Linked DNA regions of Homo sapiens: all the other regions are linked to region 5. Evidence: promoter capture Hi-C in 16 types of primary human blood cells and fetal thymus (Javierre and others, 2016). All regions are on one chromosome and are shown on one strand. Each heading gives the region's core, a stretch centred on a gene start or on the middle of the fragment in contact. The rest is flanking DNA. Distances are from core to core; before and after follow the strand shown.

Region 1 (3,189 bases), core at 545-3,044, 2.0 Mb before region 5:
ATTGGAGGAAAAGATCACACTAACCCAGCTTCACCTGATTTATGAATTGTTCTGTTTTCATTTTAATATAATGACTTCATTTTAATGTGATAACTTCATTTTAAAGGAGCTTCATTCTCAAAGGGTTCATTACTCAAGGTATTGTTATGTATTACTTTTCTTCTATGAAGTGTCCATGGACAGTTGTGGTAGATGTTTTTATGTAAGTTATTGAGTTTCACGTTACTGGCTGACTAGACTTTTATAGTTCAGAAACTTACCTCCTTCCAGCAAAGGTTCTTAATCGTTTATATACCTATTTATGACTCTTCTTTGGGAAAAATCTCCTTTGATAATCTAATGAAAGTCCCACTCCATGCAAGAAAATTAGTCATTTAGAAATAAATTCCATGCTATTACTTTTGGGGCAGTTTTTAAAAAATGAATCATTTTGTTTAAAGTCTCAGTTCGTTCAAATCTTTTGGTTCACGTATGTGTTTTTCTGTTGTGTACATTCTTCAGAGTCATATTCCTGTTTCATAGGCCCCATGTATGTCAGCTTTTAGTAGGTATCACCAGTAAGTTTTCCAAAATAATTGTACCATTTACTCTTTCTGTAAAAAGCATAGATATTTTGAATTTCTTGCCTTTTTTTCTGTGTTCACCTTTTCTTCTTGGAAGTAGACAGCTGGCTAACCAGCAGGAGTTTGGGACCGATGACAGTGCAAAACATCTTGACTGACAATGGTGGTGGCTTATTAAAGTGAAGAATCAGCATCAAGAGGGGGAATCGGTGTATTCCTTCTATTTCTAGGCCATTGGGATATAGGTCGTTATGGGACCCCAGGTAGTAACCCAGCTCATTCTGAAATAGAGCTGAGAAATGACAAGGATTAAGTGTTGCTTTTCAGGTAGAGTGCTATTTTGGACCCTTGGCACAGATTTTGGTTCTTTATTATGATAAGTACCAAGAAGGAAAAGAACTGGGTCTATTAGAGAAAATTAATGAGGGGGATTAATTAGTTTGGGATCTAAGACTTATTTGAGGTGGTGACATTTAAGCAGGATGCCGAGGGGTATTAGCCAGATGGAGAATGGGAGAGGGAAGGAGTTGCTCTGTATCTCTTCAAGCTTGAAGAAATGGCATGTGCAAAGGTGTTGAACAGCTTGAGATATCACCAAACATCCTTATCCAGGTCCAGGAACTTTATCCCAGATACCATTTCTGTTATTTGTTGCTTTCTATAATATTTTAAATTAACTAAATCACACACATTCTCTTTTTCATCATTACTTGGTAAGTGGAATGTTTTGATTTTCCCTTCTGGTTATGATTTACATGTATTAACTTATTAATACACGAAGATCAAAAAGTGACCAAAATTGTTCAAAAGGTACAATTTATTATAGGATAATTATAATTATTTCATGCTGACAATATGTTTATAAGTGTTTTGCAGTAACCTTTTTGTTTCTATAATTTCATGGTAAGAAAGAAAATGAATTAGGTAGAGCTAGTAATACCAGGTATAGACAAGAATGTAGTATTTAAAGCTAATATCTGAAATTCTCTTCTTGCATCTGCTAACTGAACGAGAAAATTCTGTGTGTGAGAATGGAAAACTTTGGGTGAAAAGTGAAAACTTGGATTTTGTAGTCCAGGCCCTTAATTAAGTAGATAACACACTCAGAAGGAGAAAATTTGGGGTGCTTTATATACAAAGGGACTATTTTTAGAGGTGTGTGTACAGGGATCTGGTGCTGCTTCATTTTTTAACCTGTTTATTGCGGTATGATTGACATACAGAAAGCTATAGACATTTAATGTATACAGTTTCTGTTTGGAGATAAGTAGATATTGTGAAACCATCCAACCATTATTACTACAAGAAATCAATGCCATCACCTTGAAAAGTTTCCTTCTACTCATCTTTTTTTCACGTTTTGTGATAAGAGCACTTAACATTAGATCTAACTTCTTAGCAAAATTTTAAGAATACAATATTGCTAATCACAGACACTGGGTTGTACCTGCAGATCTTATTTATTTTGCCTAACTGAAACTTTGTACCCTTTGAACAACAGCTTCCCATTTTGTTCTCCCCATGTTCCCTTACAACCACCATTCTATTCTCTGCTTGCATGTATTTGACTATTTTAGATTTCACATACATTGAGATAATACAGTATTTGTCTTTTTGTGTTTAGCTTATTTCACTTAGCATAATGTCCTTCAGGTTCATCCATGTTGTTGCAAATGGCAGGATTTCCTTCTTTTTTAAAGGCAAATTTGTTTATTCTCACATTTTTGTTGGGGTCCCTAAGGTTTTCTACATCTAAGATCATGTCATCTGCAAACAGATATTGTACCTCTTCTCTTTTTATTTGGATGTTTTTAATTTATTTTTCTTACCTAGTTATTCTGGCTAGGACTTAAAATACTACGCTGAATAGGAGAGGCTAAAGTAGGCAACCTTGCCTTGTTCCTCATCTTATGGGGAAAGCTTTCAGTTTTTTATCTTTAAGTATCTTAGCTGTGGGCTTCTCATAAATGGACTTTATTTTGTTTTTCCTTTACCTAATTTGCTATAAGGTTCTTCCATACCTAGTTTATTGGGAGTTTTTATCACAAAAGAGTATCGAATTTTGTCAAGTGCTTTTTCTGCATCTGTGCAGATGCCCATGTGAGTTTTATCCTTCATTCTATTAATGCAGTATATTACATTGGTTGGTTGTCATATGTTGAACCATCCTTGCATCACAATGAAAAATCCTACTTGGTCATGGTATATGATTCTTTTAATGTGCTGTTGTGTTTGGTTTGCTAACATTTCATTGAGGATTTTTACGTCTATATTCATCAAATGTATTAGACTGTAGTTTTCTTGTAGTGTATTTGTCTGGCTTTGGTATCAGGGTGATGCAGGCCTCAGAATGACTTTGGAAGTGTTCCCTCTTCTTTTTTTTTTTTTTTTAGATATGTTTAATAAGGTTTTGTATTAATTTTTCTTTAAATGTTTGCTAGAATGTATCTGGCTCTTGGCTTTTCTTTGTTGGGAATTTTTTGATTATTCCATCAATCTCCTTTTTTGTTATTTGTCTATTCAAGCATTCTATTTCTTCTTGATTCAGTCTTGGTAAGTTATATTTTTCTAGGAATTTACCCATTTTTTTTTAGATTGTCCAATTTGATGGCATATAATTGTTCAT
Region 2 (3,120 bases), core at 200-2,699, 2.0 Mb before region 5:
GGGGGCCGTTTTAAACACTAAAATCACCAAGAAAAAGCATGTGGGAAATGTGGCATTAAATAAGCCACAAAAAGGACACTTGTTTATAATGACAGCTAAGATAAGAAGGCAGAGCCTTGCCTTCAACTTCAGCTGCGAATGTGCACCTTGAACAACAGTTTTTTCAGCTCTTGCGCATGTTTGCTAAAGGCGGCAGAAGCACCAGGCGTACTCCTTTGGGAGATACAAATAAATGTTAGTGAGTAGGTAAATTCACAAATACAAAATTATAAATAATGAAGATCAACTGTAATTAATACAATTCAAGGTGTCCCATGCCTTTTCTTCCAAATTTGAATTTATTTTGTTCAAAGCTTCTTTATCATGTTGAGAGGATCTATAGAATTCTTTCTAAGGAGCTTCGAAATGAAACCAAACATGTTTTTTCTTGGTCTACAAACACAGAAACATAACTTCATTATTTATCATCTGACAGAAGTAAACAAAAATTTCATAATTACTTAGGTCACAGAGAGAAATTATGCTACAAAAAAATTCTCCATAAGATTTCAAAGTTGAAACTCTTCCTTTCCAAGGAAATAAAAACAAAAAAAAAAATGGGGGAAAAAACCCCAAAGCAATCGCAACTGTACATTTTCTCCTTATTTTTCAGAATGGTAATAAAATGCGGCCAGGAGTGGTGGCTCATGCCTGTAATCTCAGCACTTTGGGAGGCCGAGGCGGGCAGATCACTTGAGGTCAGGAGTTCCAGACTGGCCTGTCCAACATGGCGAACCTCGTCTCCACTAAAAATACACAAATTAGCCTGGCATTGTGGTGCACGCCCGTAATCCCAGCTACTGGGAAGGCTGAGGCAGGAGAATCACTTGAACCCGGGAGGCAGAGGTTGCACCGAGCCGAGAATGTGGCACTCCAGCCTGGGCAACAGAGTGAGACTCGTCTCAAAAAAAAAAAAAAAGAATGGTAATAAAATGAATACTTACAACTGAAGATTTAGATACTATTTAGTAAACTTAAATTGATAATTTCCAGAGAATGATTAGCACAAAATAGAATAAATCAGAACTCCTTTATAAATTGGATGAAGCATCAAATGAAGCAACAGCCAAATAGGCAAACGAATATGATCCCAGAATTTCTACTCCCTGAAATTATGCAAATATAACTATCAATTAATTATAACCATTTTAATACAGCAGTCAACTAATGCTCCTTGTGTCTCAGAGCTATTATATACTGTTTTGGTTTAAGGATAAAATATTCATGTTCAATTCTGTACTACCTGCAAATACACTCAGGGAGCATGGTAGTAAACAGGAAACTTAGAAGCCTGACATGAATGGCTACTGAATGGCTACTGAATGTGGACTGGCAACCAAACTGTGCGACCTTGAACACTCAGTGGTATTGTGTATAAACATGCCACATTAGCCGAGACAGAGCTATTTTATTAAATTAATCTCATGTATAAGAATTTCATATTTTGGTTTATTATCATAGCTTACATTTCAAACTTAACTTTCTGTTCCTAAAGTCCTATGCTGCTGTGGCACAGTAGCTGGGAAGACGTAAATGGAAAGTAACATGATTTTAGGAAGAGTCCAGCATTATTAAAAAATAATGCCTTTGAGAGGTATTTATCTAGAAGACTGCATAAAGTTTCCTACTTAGCTAAAGGTCCTTTTATAGAGCAAACAGCCACTATCACCCCTATATGATCTGTTGTCCTCCCACCTGCTAACATTTCAGTAAAGTTATATCTAGGATTACTAAACATATATGGTGTTTTTCTTTCTACAAAAGCTCTTTTGGTATTACATAGCTTAAATTTAATATGCTAAACTTCAAGATCATTTTTATTCATGCTCATGTCTTAGGAATAGTATTTTTTTTTTTTTTTGAGATTTAGTCTTGTCTTGTTCCCCAGCTGCAGTGCAATGGCGCGATCTCGGCTCACTGCAACCTCCACCTCCCAGGTTCAAGTGATTCTCCTGTCTCAGCCTCCCGAGTGCTGGGATTACAGGCACCTGCCACCACGCCTGGCTAATTTTTGTATTTTTAGTAGAGACGGAGTTTCACCATGTTGGCCAGGATGGTCTACGAACTCCTCACCTCAGGTGATCCGCCCGCCTCGGCTTCTCAGGAATAGGTTTTAAACTAATATTGGGATAAGTATAAATGGCAGGGTATCATCTCATGACCATGATTTGCAATTTGTAAGATATCAATTGGACAGGAAACAGAAGAAACAATTTTTGGACTCACTTTTGAAACAATCTTTTATGGAACTTTTTTGGAAAAAAATCTCAACCTTGGTTGTATTCTTGTAAGATGGAGCACATATATTTATCACCTCTCTCTCCCATAAAATGACAGAGAAAAAAAAGGTAGAAACTACAACTAAAAGAAAATGAAAACAGGACATTCATGAACATGAGATTTCAACATATTTCTGCAACATGAAAAGTAGAAGGAGGAGTGGCTACTAATGAAGCCATGTAGAGAAAGACAGAGGATAGTCTGCAATCGTATGGAGAGGGAAGCAGAAGCTTATGTACCTTGCAGAAACCTCAAGAGGCTTGGGAGTCCAAAACATAGGACAAGGAAGAGAGAAATTCAGAGTCAAATGAGCAAAACAATGAGGATATTAACATCTCTGGGTCACTGTTTCCTTCCCTACACAATAAGAATAAAAATGTCCCCCTTGTATGATTTTTATGAGAATTAAATGAAATAATGTGCATATGTATATGTAACAATGGACCACAACCTCTCCCCTCAACACACATACATCACATATCTAGAATGCTTAGGTATGTACCCCAACCCCTTTCCCTCACTCAGGCAAAATGAAGAAGCATTTTTGCTAAAGAAATTGAATGACATTAGAGAAAAACTCCCTGCCACCACCCTCCTTATATTTACAATTGGCCCAGCATAATGGCTGTCAAACCAATCACCTCAATGGAAGGAATATGGTGCACAAATCTGTAAGTCACTTCTTATTGCCTCAAAGATCCAATGTTCAAGCATTAAAATGTGGCTGAAACACTTGCATAGCAATTACTTGATTTATTTTTCCTGATTTCATCTGGTAACTGGTCAATAAATTTTAATCTT
Region 3 (2,846 bases), core at 295-2,794, 2.1 Mb before region 5:
CAGAAGCGCATGGTAATCTTGCCATCTAATCCTCTACAGTTGACAAAGTGCTTTCATACGCATTTTCTCCCTTTTCTGCAGGCTATGATCCCTGAACACTCTCAGCCTTGTCAGAGAGACCTCCAGGATGCTACTTGAGGCTGAAGAGTAGCGTTCTGGGTCCCCAGCTCAGTAGGCACCACCTCTCAGGGAAGTGACCACCACTACGCTCTCAGCTCCGCAAGTCGCTGGACAGTCAATAGCGCTCACACGGTGTCTACCGGATCTGGCACGGTCAAGACACAGGAACAGCCGTACTTTCCTGCGGGTAAGAGGCTTTTCTTTTGTGCATCACGTGCAGAAGAAGCCACTCCGAAGTGCAAACACCTTTCTAAAGTTTTCAGTGCTTCCTAAAATGCAGACATCGACGCCTTGCTGAGTTATCCGATCCTTTGATGATCAAATAAAATTAAGGCCAGCTCCCTGCTGTTTGATCTGTGGCTCAGTTTCTCTAAGGGCTGCCGCGGGTTCCGCAAAGACTCACTCCAGAATCCCCAGCTCCCTCGCGTCAGCGAATGTCCCGCTGGTCCAGGCAGCCTTTTCCTGCGCGGTTCTTCAGTTCCTTTTTCTAAAGCTCTATTTATACAAATTACTTTTTTCTTCTTTTCATTAAGCAATCAGGATTTATTTTCTTTTCTCTCTGTATCAGCCATGGACACATTCACTGATGAAGAACCAATCAACGTTTTGTGTTCTTATTTATTTTTATTTCTGATGAGGCAGGTTCCAATCAAAGAGCAAAGTCAGAGAAAATAATCAAACAGCTCGCGGTGGCCGCTTTGCCTTTGTTTTTATTCTAGTTTTCTTTGGTGGGTCATTTTTAATTCTCTTCTTTGTTAAGGGGTAGTTAAATCTGTATCTTTGTGCTCAGCAAGAGTGGCCCGTGTAGTTAAGAAGGCCCAGAGAGCTTCCTTGCCCCAGTGTTCAATGGGCAGCTTCCCTTCTCACTGAGGAGGAGACTTTCAGTGGAGAAAGAGAAATGGAAAAACTTTCCAGCAAAATCAGTCAATGCATGGAGAAACCTGCCTTTCAGGAGCTGCTAATTCTTTCCCAGGCAACTCCTACTCCCCTAGAGAGGAGGAGGAGAATGAGACCTCAGGTAAGTAAAAGATCCAAGCTCAGTGCTGATGGAGTGAGAAAAATCCCTCTCTCAGTGAGGGACAGAACCTGCTTTTTGTCTTGAAGTCGGCATTGTGTTACTGAAGATGTGGGGGCCAAGATTATTTTCAGGACACTAAAAATCTGAAATTGTTGACTTCATAAGTTGAACAATGACCAACACCAGTTGAGAATGGCCTGGAGTACCCTTCATCTTACCCCCCACCCCAGCAATGAAAATAGCCTCTGTGAGCACAAAGGTGTGGAGAGTGCTATCTGCTATTAAGCACATCAATTACATTGTGGAAAGGCTATGACTTAAACTACACATAATGAAGATACTTCTTAGGTGACACAGAGAAAAGTTTTGACCAGATGATTGGCGTTGTTCCTTACGTTTCTGTTAAAAATCACATCCTCTCAGCTCCCAGCCCAAAGTGAGTCCTAATGTTAACCTGAGACTCCTTCTAGAGTGGAAGCTCTAGGAAAGGGTCTGTGTGTGTGTGTGTGTGTGTGTGTGTATGCGCACATGTGTGTCTTTAAACTGTTGTGTGCATGTGTGTCTTTAAACTGTGTCCCCAGTGTCTAAAACAGTAGGCATCAAGTAAATATTTGTGAATTGAATGACAGAACATTAGAAGCAACACTACCATCCCCACTGCACCCCACCCACCCACCCCGGTGAAAAATGGAATTTCCCAGCCAAGATTAGTGAAAGAAGGAAAAGACAGGGGTTAAAGTGCTCTTTGCCAGAGTTTTGGGAAGAATTGGCCACCTGGTAAAATAAGTACTGACCCAACGACATCTTCGCCTACTCTTTATAATAAAGGGAAGTAAAATCACAGGTAAATAAGATGGGGGCGTTGCCGCAGAGAGTGCTTCTGAGGGTCCTTCTCTGGGATCTTGGAAAGAAGATATCCTGGAACAGGGGGCTCAGTTGGAAGGTGGCATACACATTAGCTTTCTAAAATTAAATCTATAAACACAAAACTGCAGAACTTTCAAACTACTGTGTAAGTAAAGGAAGTCTCTCCACTGAAAGCTCAGCTGGCTGTTAAGTGGGTTTTAGAAACAGCTCTAGTAAGCGAACCTATCTGCGATTTTCGGGTTTCCATTCCTATTCGACTTCCCTCCTCTGGGTCCTTACCGAAAGGGAAGGTCCCAAAGGACCACCAGCGCGCTCTCGGAGGCTCCAGGACTAGACATTGGACTCCCACAGCGCAACACCATAGGGACTCCGGTGTTCGGTTCCCGTGGCCCTCTCCTTGGCTCCCGGTCACCGTCCTCACACCCCCTGGCCCCAGTTACTGACGGAAGCCATGTGCAGCTGCCATAATGTGTATAAAAGAATCTCTCCCTGGCGTTGGTTTCTTCTCTTCTTGGAATGCTTTTGGCAGATCCTCCGCGTTTTCCGGGTCTCTTGGGAGTCTGAACATGCATTTTCCTTTATTTCAGACAGGATTCCGAGTGTTAACTAGATTGTGCCCTCCCCACTACCTATCCTGCCCATCTTCCTTCTCAGCCGTCGGGTGCGGGAGGAACGCCCTTGCCAACCTCAGCCTTTTTGATCTTCCGCGGGCAGAGACTCATCAGAGCCAGGAGGACTGTAACTACCCCCGGGGCGTGTACCGCCGAAGCCTGAAGAGGCTGGTTGGGCCAAAATAGCAGTCGCTGCAGGCACCAGTTTCAGCCCGTCACCTGAGTGCCGG
Region 4 (2,934 bases), core at 152-2,651, 3.0 Mb before region 5:
TTTCTCTTGGGCTTTTGGTTTGAGCAAATAAACCACAGCTGTATTAAGAATTAACTAACCGAAACAAAACTAAATATTTGAATAGAAAATAGGGATGAATAGACTTCCACTTCCGGCTATAATTTTAAGTGGACTTATCTTGCTACCCCAAACAACAGTTAATGCTGGACAAAATATATGAAGCAACTGTTTTCAGGAATTGGATACTAGTCAAAGCAGACTGATATCTAAAAGAAAGGAAATACACAAGGTGAATCCCAGGTTCACCATGTCTGTCTCCATGGGAGGACATTCCCAACCATGGTGCAAGGAATGCGGCTCAGAATGGTGGTATTGCTGAACTGAGGAGGCGGAGTGGAGGTTTCCGGCTGCTGAAACAGCTAGAATCTACAATCCAGGTTATTGGAGGGGAAGTACGCTTGAGTGTCAGGAGAGCTATACAGGAATTTTTATACCACAGCCATTTGCAATAGCGAAAACCCTGGAAGCAACCTAAATGCCCATTGACAGGAGAAAGGATGAATTGTGATATAATCACACAATGGAATATTACAGAGATGAATATGAATAAACTAGTTGTTATAAACAAGTTTTAGGTGTACAGGATTGAATGAAAAAGGCACTTCCCAAAACACTTTATTCAGCACTTTTTATCAATCTCAAAAGTGACTAAAAGTAAACATACAGTATGTTAATACATTTATACATGATAGGTTAAATAACTTGTCCAAGTTCACAAATTTAGTACTGGGGTCAAGGACATAATCAAGTCCAGTACTCAATATCCCTCTAACTCTGTGGGATGAATATTTATTTGGTGCCAGGAAAAACTCTCCTAAAGAATGTATGTTTTCCACATAACTTCTTTAATTTTCCTCTCTACCTAGACTATCAAGAACCTCAGGGCTGGAACAGTGGCTCACACCTGTAATCGCAGCACTTTGGGAGGCCAAGGGGAGAGGACTGCTTGAGTCCAGGAGTTTAAGACCTGCCTGGGCAACATAGCCATGTGTGGTGGCACACATCTGTGGTCCCAGCTGCTTGAGAGGCTGAGGCAGAAGAATCGCTTGAGTCTGGAAGGTGAAGGCTGCAGTGAGCTAGAACTTTATCTAATACTCCATCGTAGTATCTGTATTAACCCATGTATATCGGCATATATACTTTTAGCTAATATTTATCGAGCATTTACTATTTCTTGCCACCAGGATAAGTGTCTTAAATGTATTACTTTACTTAATCCTCAAAAACATTCAAATTTTACAGATGAGGAAACCGAAATGTTACATGAGTTGTCTGATGTTACAAAACCAGTAAGAAAAACAGAGCCCTATTCAAATCCGTGATTCACTACCTTGCTTTTAATTTCTTTCATAACCTTGTTTTTTTCTTTGTATATTTTGTTCTTGTTTTTCTTTGTATAAGCCATTAATATTTTTTGGAAAAAATTTGGAGAATCAAAGAATTACACAAATATGAATGGATTATGGTATTTTACTATCTCTTATCTGCCCGAGGACAATGTCCAAGTTGATTGTCCTGCTTTTCTAATGAAAGACTAGATGATATAAAGGCCATTTCCAGTTCCAAAATTTAGTGCTACATAATGCTGAAAAGTTATTTTTCTTTCCTTTTAATGCGACAGTCTATTGCACTCCTGAGTTACTATTCTATAGATGTGGTAACACCTAGGATGAGGATCACCAGAAGTCTGCACTGTTAACTCTTGAAGAATAAAGGCCCAGGAGCACAATGAAGTTCAATTGAAACATTTTTATTTACCTTTGCTGCAGGGTAAGTTGAGTTTCCAATCAGGGCAAGAAGGGTTTCTGACCTATAAAAACAATGGTTAGCTGTAAGGCATATATAAACTTTTATTAACCTTGGACCTGACTCAAGTAAAAATTATTACACTTATATTTACTATTTAATTTATAGAAGTGGCAAACTGGTGACCTTTGGGCAGAATCTTACCTATAGACATGTTTTGACCCCAAAATTGGAATTCATTGCCAATACTGTATTTAAAATTCAGAATTCACGAGTTCTAGTTCCACTTGAAAATTTGAGAGATCTGGGAATCCTATATTCACATTTCCATCTAGCAACAGGACTGAGCTAAACAGTGGCTATCCCCTTTAACCTGGGTATTTGTATATTTACAAACATGCTTAGAACACTGTTTCTTGCATTAGAGACAAAGCAGTATACAAAAGTGAAAATTTTACTGCCCTCACAGAGCTTACTTTCAAAATGTTCTTCACTTCACCACATCCAGTCCTTTTCCCTGGCTAGTCTCTATAGGTCTTGGCATTTCCTAATGTCAATAAATACTCTGCCTTTCTCTAAAACTGTCAGTCTCCAACAGGAATCTCATGAAGAACTAATCCAAACATGGTGAGGTATGAAATTTCATTTTTAAAGGACTAGATCTTACACAGTGGCATAGCAGCTCCTTTAGCTTTCTTGATTTTATTCCCCAAGAAATAAAATCATTACTGCTTTGTAAAGCATTTTTAGTGATATATTTAGTAATAAAAAGCCAGGTTTAAGATAATGCTATTTTTCTACTATGTAAGACAACCTTATGATTTACAGTAAGTGAAACTGGTAAAAGGTAAAATACAAAAAAAGCATACTTTCCTCTATTGATCAAGTTTGCAGTGAGTGCTTTGTTTGATATATAAGAGAATTTAGGAAATTCTAACCCAGTGCCCTGCTTTTATAGATTAAAAGACCAAAAGTAGTGGCTGACATCGGGAAGGAAACGTGAGCCCCTACCTCAGTCCTTGCACCAAAATTAATTCCAGAAGGATCAAAGATGTAATCAAAAATTTAAAAAAAGAAACCAAAGGATAATTATTTTTATAGTCTTTTATGATCTTTGAGTGGGAAGGACCTCACTAGAAAAGTTTTAGTGAAAGAATTGCTAAATTT
Region 5 (2,857 bases), core at 206-2,705:
TTTTTTTGTTTTACATTTCAGATTTGTTTTTATTTTATTAACTCTACCTGATTATATACTTTTGAGTGTAGAAAGTGATCAGTACAATCTCTGTATCACTTGCAGTATAGATGGCATTCAATAAAAATCCTTTTTTTTCTTTTTTTGTTAACAAACTGTGCCAGCCTGGAAGTTAAAAACTAAGATTTTAAACGCAACTAAGGATCTCTCTTTAGTCTCTATTTTATCGATTTTTCATTAGTTGGCTCTATTTGAGCAGGGAGTCTGCCTTATTAGTGCTGTATTCTCAAGGCTTAGAACTATTCCTGGTACACGGTAGGCACTTGGTAATAATCCTACCTGTATGGCTATACAAAAATTAATTGAATGGTCATGAATAATGCAAAGAAGCAAAAGCTTAACAAGAGACAACATAAGCCAGTATCAAGATCAGATGTTCACAGTTTTCTGGTTTGTTCCTGATCACATTCCAGGACAGATATTTTTGTTTGGTTTATGGACTGAAATTTTTAAAAAAAATTTATTTCAGCAGACCCTGAATCCATTTTTATAAAAACCCTTAGCTGTGAAAGGAACAAAGGTTTTGGCAGATAGTATAATCAGAGTCAGGATTGGCTCGGTTTGAACCCTAATGCCCTTCAGGATATTGAAAATGTGATAAAATAATTGCATTATTTATTAATGACCCAACGAAATTCTTATACATTATGCTGTAGAGCAATTCCGCAGCCATTATCTTCTTTGCTCCTAAGAACCCAGAAAGGTTATCCTTTTATTTATCAGAAATCACCATGTTAAAATGCAAATACTTAGGATCGGTAGCCTCAACCCTTATCTTCTAAAACATCTTTAGCTATCCATACAAAGCAAAGCATTAATAGGAATTGGACTGACGTTGGAGGTGGAAATACTGATGCACGTGACAGCTTTAAGGACTTGGGCGGCTAATTCCCCACTCCCCACTGCTCCTCAGATCCTCCAAAAAAAGCTCAAGTCCTAACTTTGACCAGGTTTGACAAAGAAGGGAGAGGACCAGGCGTTTTGTAAAGTGCTGCTTCCAAACGCCACCCGTCAGGACAGATTCTAAACCACCTTAACTTGCTGCCGGTTTCAAGTGAAAATAAATGGTACATAAGTAATCAAGAAGTCGCAGTCCCAGACCTCTGACCAAAGAACCGAAAAAGGACAGCGAACGACCGGTTCCCAATTCTCTGAACCCAAAGGTCGGAGAAGCAATTTAGAAGAGGAGGGGGTGGGTCTTCCACAACAAACCCCGCCCCTCCCTCACTCGTCGCTGATTGGTGGCGGCGTTAGGCCGCGACGGAGGGGCGGGCCCGCGGCTGAGTCTCTCCCTTTCCGCGCCGCCCCGTGCGCGCTGTGGGTGTGTTTCGGGAAGCGGGCGCGCGCGCGCTCGCGTCGGAGGACCGGAAAGGAGGCGGGGCTGCGGCGGCGCGCGCTCCCGGAACGCGCGCACCGCAGACGGCGCGGATCGCAGGGAGCCGGTCCGCCGCCGGAACGGGAGCCTGGGTGTGCGTGTGGAGTCCGGACTCGTGGGAGACGATCGCGATGAACACGGTGCTGTCGCGGGCGAACTCACTGTTCGCCTTCTCGCTGAGCGTGATGGCGGCGCTCACCTTCGGCTGCTTCATCACCACCGCCTTCAAAGACAGGAGCGTCCCGGTGCGGCTGCACGTCTCGCGGATCATGCTGTGAGTGAGGCCGGGCCGGCGGTGCAGGACGCCGGGACCGGGCTGGGGCGGAAGCCGAAGCCGGGCCGCCGCGCCGGGGCTGCCGTGCCGGGGCCGCGGGCAGGGCGTCCGGATCGCCCTCCTGAGCGGCAGTTCGCCCCCGAGGGCGGTCGTCAGGGGTGGACGTCGCAGGCTTTTCCGGCGTCCCCTCGGAACTTGCACCCCTCCACCGTAAATTCCCGGGCTTGCTCTTAAATTTTAATTTTGAGCGTTCCTCAGGTCGGTGCCTCCGCTTGCTTCCTGTTCCTCACTTCCCTCCACCCACGCCTGGCCAATGAGGGAGCAACACAACAGCAGAGCCGGCGCCGCCGCCCGCCTGGGCTGGCGCCTCCCGCGCGTCCGGTGCCGCTCGTGGTCCGCATGCGAGGCCCTCCAGGCGCTGCCGCCGCGCTCTGGGTCGGGCTTCCGTGGGGTTTCCTGGCGGCTCTGGAGGCCACAGGACGGGGTTGTCTTTGTGTCATTCATCACCCGAGTTTGCCCTGTTTGACATTCCCTTTACAGTTGTTGCCTTTGCACCTTCAGAAGGCAGTAAACAGTTGGAGCTGCTTTGAAGTTGGCCAGAGATGTTGGGCACTGAGAGAATTAAGCATCTTAGCCTTCTGATACAGCGAGATTTTTGTTTTGTTGGGTTTCTTTATTTCTTTTTCTTTTGCCAACCACTTGAAGAAGTCTGCGAAAACGCCAAAAAATGCAGTTCGAAATGACAGTGCCATTTCGCTATTGCCTATTTTGTCCTTGATTTTATTCTCTGGCACTTTTGTCTTTAATCGTCGTATTTTTCCATCTCTTGTTCTCATACCCTTCTACTCTATTTCCGTCTTACACAAGTTCTTTAACCTTAGTTTATTTCTTTGTCAGAATCGCCAAGAAGCCAGTTATCAAATAGCGAGCCTTCTCCCCCCACCTTTTTTTTTTTTTTTTAAATTACTGTACTGATGTTTGTTAGATATTGTTCGAATAGACCTGGGGTGGACATCAGCACTGCCATTGTCAGCCCTGTGAGGGTTAGAAGAGCTTGGTGCATATTAAACACTGAACAGATGTTAGCTGTTGTTGTCTTGAGCAAGTTTTCTTACCATTCTGGGCCTTAATTTCTTTTTGTTTAAGAT
Region 6 (3,240 bases), core at 476-2,975, 3.0 Mb before region 5:
TGGCAAAAAAGGTAGGAAGAATAAGTAGATTTAAATTGACACCATAAGAGTCTCTGCAGTTCTTTTTTTTTTTTTCTTTGAGACAGAGTCTCATTCTGTCACCCAGGATGTGCAGTGGCGCAATCTTGGCTCACTGTAACCTCTGTCTCCCAGGTTCAAGCAATTCTCCTGCCTCAGCCTCCCAAGTAGCTGGGACTTCAGGCACGTGCCACTGCGCCCTGCTAATTTTTGTATTTTTAGTACAGACGGGGTTTCACCATGTTGGCCAGGATGGTCTCGATCTCTTGACCTCATGATCCACTTGCCTCAGTCTCCCAAAGTGCTGGGATTACAGGTGTGAGCCACCGCGCCCAGCCTGTAGTTCTTGAATTGTAATAGAAATGTTCATTTGGCCCATATTCAGATGAATATCTGTCACTTTCATATTAGGAAATCATCCTTTTGTAAATTTTTGAGACTGACTCTCACTTTGTTGCCCAGGCTGGAGTGCAGTGGCACAATCTCAGCTCACTGCAGCCTCCGCCTCCCAGGTTCAAGTGATTCTCCTTCCTCAGCCTCCCAAGCAGCTGGGATTACAGGCATGCGCCACAATGCCCGGCTGATTTTTGTATTTTTGGTAAAGTGGGGTTTCACCATGTTGGCCAGGCTGACCTCAAGTGATTCACCTGCCTTGGCCTCCCAAAGTGCTAGGATTACGAGTGTGAGCCATCATGCCCTGCTGAAAATAACTTTTTATCTGCTTTTGTGTAGGTGATATATTAATACTATATTGACCTTATATCAACTCAATGATTGATAACGACTTAAAACTGCAAATTCTTGTGTAAATACTCTTATAAATATAAAGGTGGCATATTTACAACTTTGTCCTCTAAATCGTGTTGTTACTGTGCTTAGTATTTTGACTGTATTTAAAAATATATTCACAAACTATGAAATTTTCAGATATACTTTTCAAAATATACATCTAATTTTAAAGCCTGGAATTCTAATTAGACTGAAAAAATGCACTTACGCATAATTGAGGATTATGCATCCTTCACCCTATTCGGGCCACTCCTGGAGTCAGGGTAGTAGAGCACAGCATTGCAGAGGCCGGAGCCAGAAGAAAAGCAAAAATGCCTTCCATCCTCTTGGCCTTGAATCTCCCATTAACAGAACTGAACCGGAAAGAAATTGGCAAGTGAATCTGGGAAATGATATTTAGAATTCCAGTACTCTGTAATATAGAGAGAGTAAAAGAATGAGAATGGAACTGACAGACAACAGAAATATAACCAGCACAGTCAAACAACTGGCAAGTGGCAGAGTTTATATCTCAAGCAGTCTAGCTCCTGAGTCCATGCACTTAACTACTACAGTATGCAGTGACACTATGATATGCTATAGCAACATTATTTCATACATTTTAAAATTAATGGCTGATGATGAATGCAAGTTGGCAGGAAAGAAATTGTAGGAATTGGATTCATTAAATATTCCAGAAAGATTAAGTTTCTACGTTGTGCCGGACACTACTCGAAATAGAATGATGCAAAACCAAAATGAAACAAGGATGAAGGAAGAGAGTTCCTTTCTCAGTATTTCAGACTGGACAAAATTTCCCTGTGAAGGATTCCAACTGGCTTGATTTGAATCGTGTGCCCCCCTCATTAAGCCAGGCACTTTCAGGGCAGGTATTAGGGGAAATAACCTAGTGGAAATGCTCAATAGAAACCTGAGACAAGGATTTTGTTGCAAATAGTTTATCTAAGAGATGCAGGAAACACCAGTAGGAGGTGGGGAAGCGAGACAAAGAAGGGAAAACAGTCAATAAAGGGTGCGGTATCAAGCCAGATACCACTTATAATGACTGGAGCATAATCCCATGAGAAAACTCTGGGAAAACACAGGCCTCAAAGTTATCCCATCTGAAGGCCAAGTGAGCTGGGGTATCTATATAACAAATCTTTCCAGTCACTTGGTGAAGGCTGCTAGAGTGGGAGTTTGTTAATTCCCAGGCATTTCCAAATTGCCCTGATCACATAGGGACAGAGCTGCCTTCCACAGCTTTGGAGAAAGCCCTCAGGTCAAGAAATCAATGTTGAAGTGGTAATGGCCAGAGAGACAAGAGCAGGGTCTGTCTCAACTTCTTCATCAGGTAAAAATTTTATCTGCCTAATGCATGGAGTTATAAATTTCAAAAGAAAGAACGCCTATGAGAGAGTGTTATAAAATATAAAATGTAATACCAAAAATTATTGTTTAGGAGTTTCTTGAAGGCAGGAGGTGCATATCATGTTTTTACATCTCTCCTAAGGCCTAGTACAGTGCTATGCATATGCATAGGCTCAAATATTTATTGGATGAATTTTTCAATGTAATGATTATTAAATATTCATTAAATATTTTCTAGGTTAATAGGTGTTTTTAAACTTATAATTCATATCAATAACTCATTACTGTTAACTTCTAAAAACCTTTATGTTTGAAAACTATAAAGTAGCATGGTCTTGTTCTATACCTTTGTCTAAAATTCTTAAATCTAGGTTGTTGTTCAGAACTCTGTTAATTACCCAAAACCCATTTTCTCCTTTCTTCTTACTTTAAAAAATATCTTGATTATAAAAAAGGTAATGATAAATTATTGCGGGTTCAAACCAATCATGAGAAAGCTATTCTCAGTAGCATAAGAGAAAGGCAAGAAAATTGTAGACATCAACCCGGACATTATTGAACTACTGAACCATTACCAGTAACCATCTTCTCTCAGTCTTCTTATATGTCAGAAAAATAAACTCATAATAATACTGTTAGATAGATATTCTATTATATGCAGCCATTGGCTAATAACTTTTTTAATAGCATTTTTTTCTTCTTTTGCGTAGCAAGCCCAAGACAAGTCATTTATTTCTGGACTAGATTATTTCATTATAGTAACTCATCAGAAAACTGAGATAAGCAGTAAGTATTTGGCCATTCACATTTTAACTATTTTGGATTCCCCTCTAACTAAAGAAAGATCACGGTTTTTTCCTACAGCTCTCTACCTGTGCTGGCTCCATCAATATTCAGTTTGACATTTTGACACATATCTAAAGAAGCTCAAGAGGGCTCTATCACCAAGAAAGCTGTAGTGAGATGATAGTCTTTCAGATACAAGTTAAAGTCGCTTGTCCAGTTATGTATGTGATCTTCTGCAGAGCCACTTTGCTTACTCAAAAAAACACATCTCCTGTTCTCTCACCAGAATATATTTTG

The links. The method cuts DNA at HindIII sites, captures the fragments that hold promoters and counts their contacts. A CHiCAGO score of 5 or more calls a contact.
Region 1: a contact is called between a fragment that was not itself captured here and the fragment with the promoter of SPCS3 in region 5, in 8 of 17 cell types (total CD8 T cells, non-activated CD4 T cells, naive B cells and 5 more). The highest score is 12.8, in total CD8 T cells.
Region 2: a fragment that was not itself captured here is called in contact with the fragment with the promoter of SPCS3 in region 5 in 2 of 17 cell types (total CD4 T cells and naive CD8 T cells); the score reaches 8.1 in total CD4 T cells.
Region 3: a contact is called between a fragment that was not itself captured here and the fragment with the promoter of SPCS3 in region 5, in 1 of 17 cell types (non-activated CD4 T cells). The highest score is 5.6, in non-activated CD4 T cells.
Region 4: a contact is called between a fragment that was not itself captured here and the fragment with the promoter of SPCS3 in region 5, in 2 of 17 cell types (neutrophils and total CD8 T cells). The highest score is 8.1, in neutrophils.
Region 6: a contact is called between a fragment that was not itself captured here and the fragment with the promoter of SPCS3 in region 5, in 1 of 17 cell types (neutrophils). The highest score is 10.3, in neutrophils.

What each region holds. Positions count from the first base shown.
Region 1 is chr4:174,286,358-174,289,546 of GRCh38, forward strand. All of the region lies in intron 1 of CEP44 (centrosomal protein 44), which reads left to right. Among named protein-coding and RNA genes, the nearest start is that of CEP44, 4.0 kb to the left of the region's middle. The HindIII fragment of the contact is 1,373 bases long and covers 1,109-2,481 here.
Region 2 is chr4:174,268,736-174,271,855 of GRCh38, forward strand. All of the region lies in intron 1 of FBXO8 (F-box protein 8), which reads right to left. Among named protein-coding and RNA genes, the nearest start is that of FBXO8, 13 kb to the right of the region's middle. The HindIII fragment of the contact is 2,196 bases long and covers 352-2,547 here.
Region 3 is chr4:174,211,449-174,214,294 of GRCh38, forward strand. All of the region lies in intron 1 of LINC02268 (long intergenic non-protein coding RNA 2268), which reads right to left. Among named protein-coding and RNA genes, the nearest start is that of LINC02268, 7.5 kb to the right of the region's middle. The HindIII fragment of the contact is 4,679 bases long and covers 1-2,846 here.
Region 4 is chr4:173,324,890-173,327,823 of GRCh38, forward strand. No RefSeq gene overlaps it. Among named protein-coding and RNA genes, the nearest start is that of HMGB2, 8.0 kb to the right of the region's middle. The HindIII fragment of the contact is 5,987 bases long and covers 1-2,934 here.
Region 5 is chr4:176,318,511-176,321,367 of GRCh38, forward strand. SPCS3 (signal peptidase complex subunit 3) reads left to right here and starts at 1,456. Exons shown (of 5, transcript NM_021928.4): 1 at 1,456-1,709. The coding sequence starts at 1,567. SPCS3-AS1 (SPCS3 antisense RNA 1) reads right to left here and starts at 2,000. Exons shown (of 4, transcript NR_186171.1): 1 at 1,635-2,000. RefSeq lists an enhancer at 1,267-1,767 and silencers at 1,750-1,869, 1,990-2,059, 2,090-2,169. The HindIII fragment of the contact is 6,231 bases long and covers 395-2,857 here.
Region 6 is chr4:173,342,182-173,345,421 of GRCh38, forward strand. No RefSeq gene overlaps it. Among named protein-coding and RNA genes, the nearest start is that of HMGB2, 9.4 kb to the left of the region's middle. The HindIII fragment of the contact is 3,910 bases long and covers 1-3,240 here.